2 separate regions of the Homo sapiens genome follow, and region 1 is linked to region 2. Evidence: promoter capture Hi-C in 16 types of primary human blood cells and fetal thymus (Javierre and others, 2016). All regions are on one chromosome and are shown on one strand. Each heading gives the region's core, a stretch centred on a gene start or on the middle of the fragment in contact. The rest is flanking DNA. Distances are from core to core; before and after follow the strand shown.

The links. Contacts are between HindIII fragments. The CHiCAGO score rates a contact against its expected background, and 5 or more counts as called.
Region 1: a fragment that was not itself captured here is called in contact with the fragment with the promoter of ACVR1 in region 2 in 1 of 17 cell types (M1 macrophages); the score reaches 5.3 in M1 macrophages.

What each region holds. Positions count from the first base shown.
Region 1 is chr2:158,013,262-158,017,438 of GRCh38, reverse strand. It overlaps a transcript of UPP2 not described here. Among named protein-coding and RNA genes, the nearest start is that of UPP2, 87 kb to the left of the region's middle. The HindIII fragment of the contact is 4,079 bases long and covers 1-3,622 here.
Region 2 is chr2:157,873,906-157,877,968 of GRCh38, reverse strand. ACVR1 (activin A receptor type 1) reads left to right here and starts at 1,639. Exons shown (of 11, transcript NM_001111067.4): 1 at 1,639-2,173. It overlaps LOC105373714 (a long non-coding RNA gene), which reads right to left and starts at 1,385. Exons shown (of 2, transcript XR_923518.3): 1 at 1,253-1,385. RefSeq lists silencers at 1,078-1,267, 1,288-1,527, 1,588-1,807, 1,818-1,867, 1,958-2,167 and an enhancer at 1,398-1,692. The HindIII fragment of the contact is 1,597 bases long and covers 724-2,320 here.

The sequences.
Region 1 (4,177 bases), core at 334-2,833, 140 kb before region 2:
CTCCTGCTTGCTGCTGCTTCCTTCCAGGAGAGATATAAGTACTAAGATGACTTCTGTATTGCCCAGAAAGGTAAATTTATGGCTTAAATATGTTGTTCTATTATTCACAAGGTACCTCTGGGTCACCTTTGCTATAAAAGTGGAGACTATTTTTAAAATAAAGTTAGGACACACTCCATAAAAGTTTTACAACTCACTTAAAATCATAGAAGAGCTGTATATTTCAAGATGAAGATTTAAGCTCTGGTTATTTAACAGGGTCTTAAGAGGCAGGAATTGCTGTGTCAACTAATGTTGTGCACTATATTTCATTACTGCCTTTATGTTTTTTTAAATACCTCAAGAATAAAGTTTATTTAAAATGTCACACTTTGCAAACTGCACATTATATCCATAGAATATGCTAGTACCACTCCCATTCCTTTTATTTATTACAGTAGATTAGTTATGGACCCTCTGCTATAGTATCTTGGCTTATTAAGATGCTGCATGCTAAAAAGCATAGATGGCCCTGTAATGAGCAGTTACAAAATCAAGTCACCAATTCTTCCTTGGCTTTCTTTTTTGTTCAGAGGGAAAAATTGAGGATTTGACCTGTGCCTGAAACATTAACCACCTGATTCTGCTTGTGGGGTGGGGACAGAAAAGGGCCCTCTCAACACTTAATTATTGAGAAATCCTCCGTATCTCTCCAGGATTATAGAAAAGGATTAACAATCATCAAGGTTGCTTGAACAAATCTCAAGTTCAAATTCCAGAGGAAGACGGGATGGTCTAGGGTGATCAAAACCTAGACCCAGGGCTGGGTGCAGTGGCTGACACCTGTAATACAGCACTTTAGATGCCGAGGCAGGCAGATCACTTGAGGTCAGGAGTTCAAAACCAGCCTGGTCAACATGGTGAAGCCCTGTCTCTACTAAAAATACAAAAATTAGCTGGGTTTGGTGGCGGGTGTCTATAATCCCAGCCACTTGGGAGGCTGAGGCAGGAGAATCGCTTGAACCCAGGAGGTGGAGGTTGCAGTGAGCTGAGATAGCACCATTGCACTCCAGCCTGGGCAACATGAGCGAAATTCTGTCTCAAAAAAAAAAATCATCTAATTCACAAGAATTTTTTTTGCTAATATAAGTCATCCATAAACCTCTATGAAAGGTGAGCCCTTTATGAGACAACTTGATCCCTATAAAGTATTCAATAAACACAATGGGCACTAAAAGACAGTCTTAATGAAATGGGACAATTTAGAAATATTTTCTTAATTGACATCAAGAAAAAGTAATTTAAAAAAAAAATCTGTTAGTTTTTTTTTTTTTAAACAAGTGTTAGTGAGGATGTGGAGAAACTGGAGCCCTTGTGCACTGTTGGTGGCATTACAAAATGGGGCTACTGCCATGGAAAATAGTGTGGTGGTTCTCCAAAAAATTAAAAATAGAATTACCATATGACCCAGCAATTTCACTTCTGGGTATATGCGTTAGTCCTTTTTCATACCACTATAAAGAACTACCTGAGACTGGGTAATTTATGAACAAAAGAGGTTTAATTGACTCACAGTTCCACAGGCTGTACAGGAAGCATGGCTGGGAGGCCTCAGGACACTTACAATCATGGTGGAAGTTGAAGGGGAAGCAGGCACATCTTACCATGGTGGAGCAGGAGAGAGAGACAGAGAGCAAAGGGGTAAGTGCCACACACTTTCAAACAACCAAATCTTGTGAGAGCTCACTATCACAAGAACAGCAAGGGGGAAGTCTGCCCCATGATTCAGTCACCTCCCGCCAGGCCCCTCCCCTGACACGTGGAGATTACAATTCAAGATGAGATTTGGTGGGAACACAGAGCAAAACCACATCCGTATATAACTAGAGTCTCAAAGAGATATTTGCACATCCATGTTCACAGCAGCACTATTCACAATAGCTAGGAAATAGAAGCAATCTAGATATCCAACAACAGATGAATAGATAAACAAAATGTGGCATATACATACAGTGGATTATTATTCAGCCTAAAAAAGGAAGGAAATTATGTCACATGCTGTAACATGGTTGAACCTTGAGGATATCATGTTAGGTGAAATAAGCCAGTCACAAAAAAAGATCAATACTGTATGATTCCACTTATATGAGGTATCTGAAGTAGTTAAATTCATAGAAACAGAAAGTAGAGTGGTGGCTGCCAAGAGCTGGGAAAGGGGGAGTGGGAAGTTGTTGTTTAATGGGTATAGAGTTTTAGTTGTGCAAGATAAAAAGTTCTGGAGATCTGTTTAACAAGAATGTGAATATACTTAACACTACTAAACTGTATACTTTAAAATGGTTAAGATGGTAAATTTGACATTGTGTGTTTTTGTTTAATTATAATTTTAAATCTGTTAGTTTCTCTAATGATCATAATGAAGATTAATTAAATTGTGCTCAAAAGATGTATTATGGGATAGGAATACAGGTAATTTTATTCTCTTTATTGTTGCTGGACCAAGTTTTCTGCTTCCTACATATCAGAATGGCTAGGCATTGCAAAATAATCTATCACCATAGAATCTAAGGATTCTTTTGGAATATAAGCATCATTTTCAAAAGTAATTTGTGATTCAAGAGTTGCTTAGAACCAAATTTCCCTAGGAAACTGAATGATTTGGGTGTTTTGTTATGGGGTGGAGGGAGAAGATGTGGTGGAAGTTGGCATGATCTCTATTTGGGTGGGGCTCTTTTTGTATTTTTGATAGAGAATAGCTGTATTAATCAGTAGTGTATTATAGAAGGCATATGTCTTATGTTTCATTGCTTGGTTTTATGTTGTGCAGCAGCAATTTGCTAACCACAGTCCTGAAGAAATATAGCCACGCAGCAAAAGAAGCATTTATTTTCAGAAACACATTTCTTTTCTGACATTACAGGGGAGTGGGAGGGAAGGTCCAGATTAACTGTACTTTTTAATAAGAGATGGAGTGCTATTGGAAAACTATTAAGGAAATTGTGGCTTTAGCTCAGATTCAAGGAAGCCCATAAGAAGAATTTACTACCTTCCAGCTTAATACTGCAGCAGGGCCAGTTCTACAGACCCACTGCTCCCTGAATGATTCTGGAGAGTATTTGCGAGCTGGGGTTGTTCTAGGAGAGGCAATCAGCCGCTGATGAGCTCCCCTGCTTAACTTTCCTAATTGATTCCACCAGACCTCCTAGTAGACTAGTTGCTAACCCTGCCCCATCCCAACTCTGGCCTGGCTCTTTCTGATGGCAGTCTTCAGAGACCATTTGCCAGTTTGGAGTTAGGCCTTGGAGCTGCAGAACAGGCTTGTAAAGCAGATGCGTAGTAAATGCTGCAGCCAAATGTACAGCACATTTTCCTAAGTGGAAATCCTGTGTTACAGACAGAACATTACTTAACAGTAGGTGGGCAGTTCAATCCTAAACAGCTCAGTTCTTCCCCATCAGAGACCCTGCAGAAGCAGGCTTCTGCCACAGCTGTGGGAGGAAGAACAGTTCTTGTAACTGTTAGGAGCAGACAGTGGCTAAGAGAAACAGTCTCTTGGGAAGTCCCTGTCTGTGATTTTCCTACGTAAACACAAGAAAACAAAACCCCTGGGCTTGTCGTTCACACAAGCAAGCCGCACAAAGCTTTCTTTCCTTCATCTGCATGTGCTAGTGTGCTGTTCTTCCTTTAGGTTTTACTGCTGCTTAAAGGTGTTTTTGTCCAGATATGTAAAGGTGCCTCGCCCTTCTCCTTCTCAGGAAAAATAACTATTTATTGAGTGCCTGTTGCCACGCAGGAACTCTGTATCCATCATCTCACCTCTTCCTCATCAAACACATCTCTTCCGAGTGAGTTGCCAAATTACACTGCTGGCTTCCCAACCTGAGGTTTTGCTTCTGTTTACATTTTACCAGAGCAAGAGAGAAAAAGTCACAAATGATGTGCTGTCTTCTCATCTTACTAATCCCCTCTTCCCCAAGCCTTTCCACATCTAGAATTAAATACCTGGGCCTTGGCAGCCAGGCCAACCCCTAACATTGGTAAAGCCCAGGCAAGAGCACAAATGGATGCCCATATGCCTAAAGCTGTAAGAGTTATAATGCCCCTTTAATGCATCCTCATGTCCACGTTGGATATGTGCATTAAAATTCATGAAAAAGAATTATTGGCCAGGTGTGATGGCTCATGCCTGTAATGCCAG
Region 2 (4,063 bases), core at 390-2,889:
CCTACTCAGCAAAACTTTATTGAACACCCACATGAACCCTTCTGCTAAACATTGTGATACATGATGAATACAATCAGACCTGGTCCCTGCCCTCTTGCAGCTTACAGCCTGGGAGGGAACTCTAAAGGTTACCAAGAAGGGCCAGTTTGTACAATGAGGACTCCATGAATGTACATCATTGAGCTTCACAAGCTTTCACGTTTGTAATCTCATTTGAACTGCACAACCACCTCACGAGACAACCTGTATTCCCTTCTTAGGTTAAAAATGTGCCCCAGTTCAAAACAGTTTGTAAGTGGCAGAGCTGACACTTCAGCCAAGTGACAATGAGGGCCCTGTTACATCATTCTATAGAGCAGGGATACATATAGGTGCTCTTGCCTTGATTGGTACTGAACTTGCCTCTCCTGCTCCTCACCAATCATACAGGTACAAAGCTCTCTTTATGAAAAAAATGCTCCCACCTACTCCATCCTTTTGCTTACAGCTGGGGATTCTAGTTTTTTCACGTATATATGCCTTGTATTTCTAATTAGATTGTAAACTCCCAACCTGCAGGGACCAGATCTTCCATTTCCTTTGCAACCTTTTGCAGTACTGCAGTCACCCAATAAATGCCCTCTGCATGAATGAACCTGTAGAGATAAAAATACTTTATGGCATTCCCATTTATAGGTTTCATGTTTTTATTCTGCTTTGTGATAGGACTGTACATTATAAGCTTCTAGAGGGCAGAGAAAATGGCTTAGTGCTTTCCTTTACACTCAGCAGGAACCATGCAAAATTTGATCCTTGCATGCCTTTTTGATGCTCTGGGTAATATTAGCACACTGGGGTGTTTTTGTGTATCTAAGGACCGAGGTTATCAGACTCTCTGCAGCGGAGAATGTTCCTGCATTTCCACTGTAAGCTCCCATGGCGCCTAGGACAGGGCTAGATCACTGCAGAAGCCCCTCCATGCTTATTTCTGTTACTAAGGAAGCCAAAGGCGAACATGGCAAGCTCTGTCATAACCCTAGACCTTGCAAGGAAATGAGCAAAGTGGAAGGGGATCTGAAGGCAGGTCAGAGATGGCCTGGATGAGAATGCTAAGGCTTCTCTCTGAGAATCCAGCCCAAGTCTGACATGCAGGGCTCGAGTAGGTGGCCGCCCGCAGTCGCCGGGCCCGGGATGCCCGCCCGTCCGCCCGCCTGCCCCGCGCGCCCTCGGGAGCTGTCCAGACGGCCCCGCCCGCGCCTACCTGGGCACTCACCCGTGCCGCGCGGCCTCTTCTCCTCCCACCCCGGCCACAGGAGCCCAGCTCGGGCCTGCCCCGCCGCCTCCGAGGAGCCCCGCTGGCGGCGCGCTCATAGCTTCCACCCGGGCCAAGCGACCGGCCAGACAGCGCCAGGCGCGCCGGGGGCGGCGCGGTCAGGCTCGGCGGGGCTCGGCGGGCTCGCCCTCGGCCGGGCGCCTGCAGGGGGCGCGGGGACGGCCCCGCCCCGCCGCCTCCTCTCTCCCCTCCCGGCTCCCTGGATCCGCGCCGGGAGGAAATGATGTGTTGCTGCCTGGTTAATCACAGCTCCAGACACTCATTGGCCGAGCGCTCCGCAGCCACTTCCTCCTCCTCCTCCTCCCGCTCCTCCCGCTCCGGCTCCTGCTCTTTGCAGCCGCCGCCGCCGCCGCAGCCTCCCCCTCGGCGCAGGGGGAACTTTTCTACTCTCTGTGACGGTCTCCCCCGCCGCCCCCGGGGGCAAGCCCAGCTGGTCCGCCCGCCCCGCCCGCGGTCGTGCTCCCAGCCCGAGCCTCTGCGCCTCGGGAAGTTTATTCTGCCCGCCCTCCTCCCCTTCCTCCTCCTCTTCACCCCGCCTCCCCGCCCTCCCCCGGCTCTTTCCCCCGGGTGGCTGCCGCTGCCGCCGCTGCCGCTGCCAGCCTGCTCCTCGGCCAGCCGCGCCGGCCCCAGGGCCGGGAAGCTCCCGGCCCCACGCACCGCTCCGCTGCAGCCACCGCAGCCGCCGCCGCTCTGGGCCGGCCCTCGGCCCCCGGCTCCCGGCCCCGCAGAGTTCCGGGCTCCCTCGCCGGCTGCACCGCCCCGCCCCGCCCCGCGCCGCCCCGCGCCGCGCCGACCTGCAGCGCCCGGCTGCCTCGCACTCCGCCTCCCCCGGCTCAGCCCCCGGCCGCGGCGGGACCCGAGGTGAGCGCAGGTCGCCGGCCGCGCCTGCTGGAGCCGGGAGGACTGAGGGAGGAGGTAGCCTAGCGGGAGAAGAGGCAGGGATCGGGGGTGGCAGGGTGGGCGTCTGCGGTGCCTCCCCCTCGCTTTCATTCCTTTCTCCCCCAAGCTTGATCCCCTCTCCGTGGGGGAAGCAGCCGCGGAACAAAACTGTCTTGCTTTGGGCCTGAACTGCTGGTGGGATATGGGGGGTGGGGGGGCAGAGGCGTGGAGCGGGGGTCTCAGGTTTGTATTGGGGTGTGTGTGAGTGCGTGTGTGTGTGTGTGTGTGTTGTGAACTCCTTCAGGGTGTGCGACTCTGACTTGTAAATCGATCTGGCCGCGGGGCCACGGGGCTTACCTTCCTAGCTGAGCTTGTAGAGAGTAAGGAGATAGATAGGCGAATTTCCCCCACCCTCAAAATATCCATCTCTTCCAAGAGGAATTTTCTGCTGGAGAGACAGCCAATAAACTCTGCTCAACTCCCTCCCTCCCTCGGTTCTTCCTAGCTGCAGTTTCAAAAAGCTTCAAAGCCAGGAATGTGGGATTCATCTTCCGATCCCCAGAAGGCAAATGTGGTTACAGATGTTGCACGGTACTTTGCCAAGTTTAAAACCCTTCCTTCAACACTGTAACCAAAACAGTGAGGCTAGAACCTCGGGCGCACTAAGAAGAGATGTGGGCCTCTGGGGCCGCTGGATTCAGTAACTTCCGTCGGGTTCTAGACTGGCTCGGCTCTGTCCAGTTTGTGCCAGATAGTCTCCCACCCCCTCCCCACCCCTCCTTTCCCCTGGAGATTTGAACGCTGCTTGCATGGGAGAAAAGCTACTTAGAGAAGAAAACGTTCCACTTAGTAACAGAAGAAAAGTCTTGGTTAAAAAGTTGTCATGAATTTGGCTTTTGGAGAGAGGCAGCAAGGTAATACAATGGACTTGTCAATTTTATTGGGCTTTTCTTTCTTTTTTGAGGGATGTATGATAAGAGTTAGATGATGGGCAAAGGGGCCCGTTCCATACATGTTTTTACATATTTTTGAGAAGAGGCCCATGAATTGAGACATAACCCAGTGGTTTTAAAGAATCCTGTCCCAGAGATGCAGATTGCTCTGACAGCCCAAGGGAAGGCGGTGGCAAAAAATAGACACCACCTCCCTTTTCCCCAAAAAAATTCTTCCTGGAAAGGTGGTGTTAAGAAATTTCAGAGATGGGCTGATCCAAGTGGCGGGCCTTAAATGGAAACACTATAGTATGTCCTGGCACTTGTCTCTGGAGGTGGGTTGCTGGCCAGGGGCCCAGGCTTGGGCAGCCAGCAGACACTAGACTTGTGCTGACCTCAGACATCGGCCTCGCCATGCAGCTTCATAGTGTGCAGACTGCTTAAGTTTGAAATATGGGCCTCATCCATTTCACTGATGGGGACATAGGGGTCAGGAGGTTATCTTATGCCTGGATGGGACCTCGATCACTTATTTTATGATTCACTTGTTTTTATTTTCTGTCTTGGAATTTTAAAAAATGGAATTCTTTTGAAGCTGAAATCTAGGCCTTAAGTTGATGTAACTGGGTGTTGGATAATAGCATTTCTGCTATTACCCCTTATGCAGGTACTCACAGGTGGTGAATGATGGATAGATAAATTCTGGATAGGTGACAAAGACTAAGGATTGGGATGATTATAGATTGGGTTCATGCCCTCCTTTTCCAGCTGTGTTGTTGAGTTTTACTTGAAATGGAGAGGGTGGTTTTAAATAAAACTTGATTTAGATAGTAGTCTTACAACTTTTGTACCTTGGAAGAGAGTGATCATTTGAATTCTAGCAAGTTTGTTGTTATCTGTGAGGAATTTAAAGGAATATTAAGGATTCAGAGTAAAGATG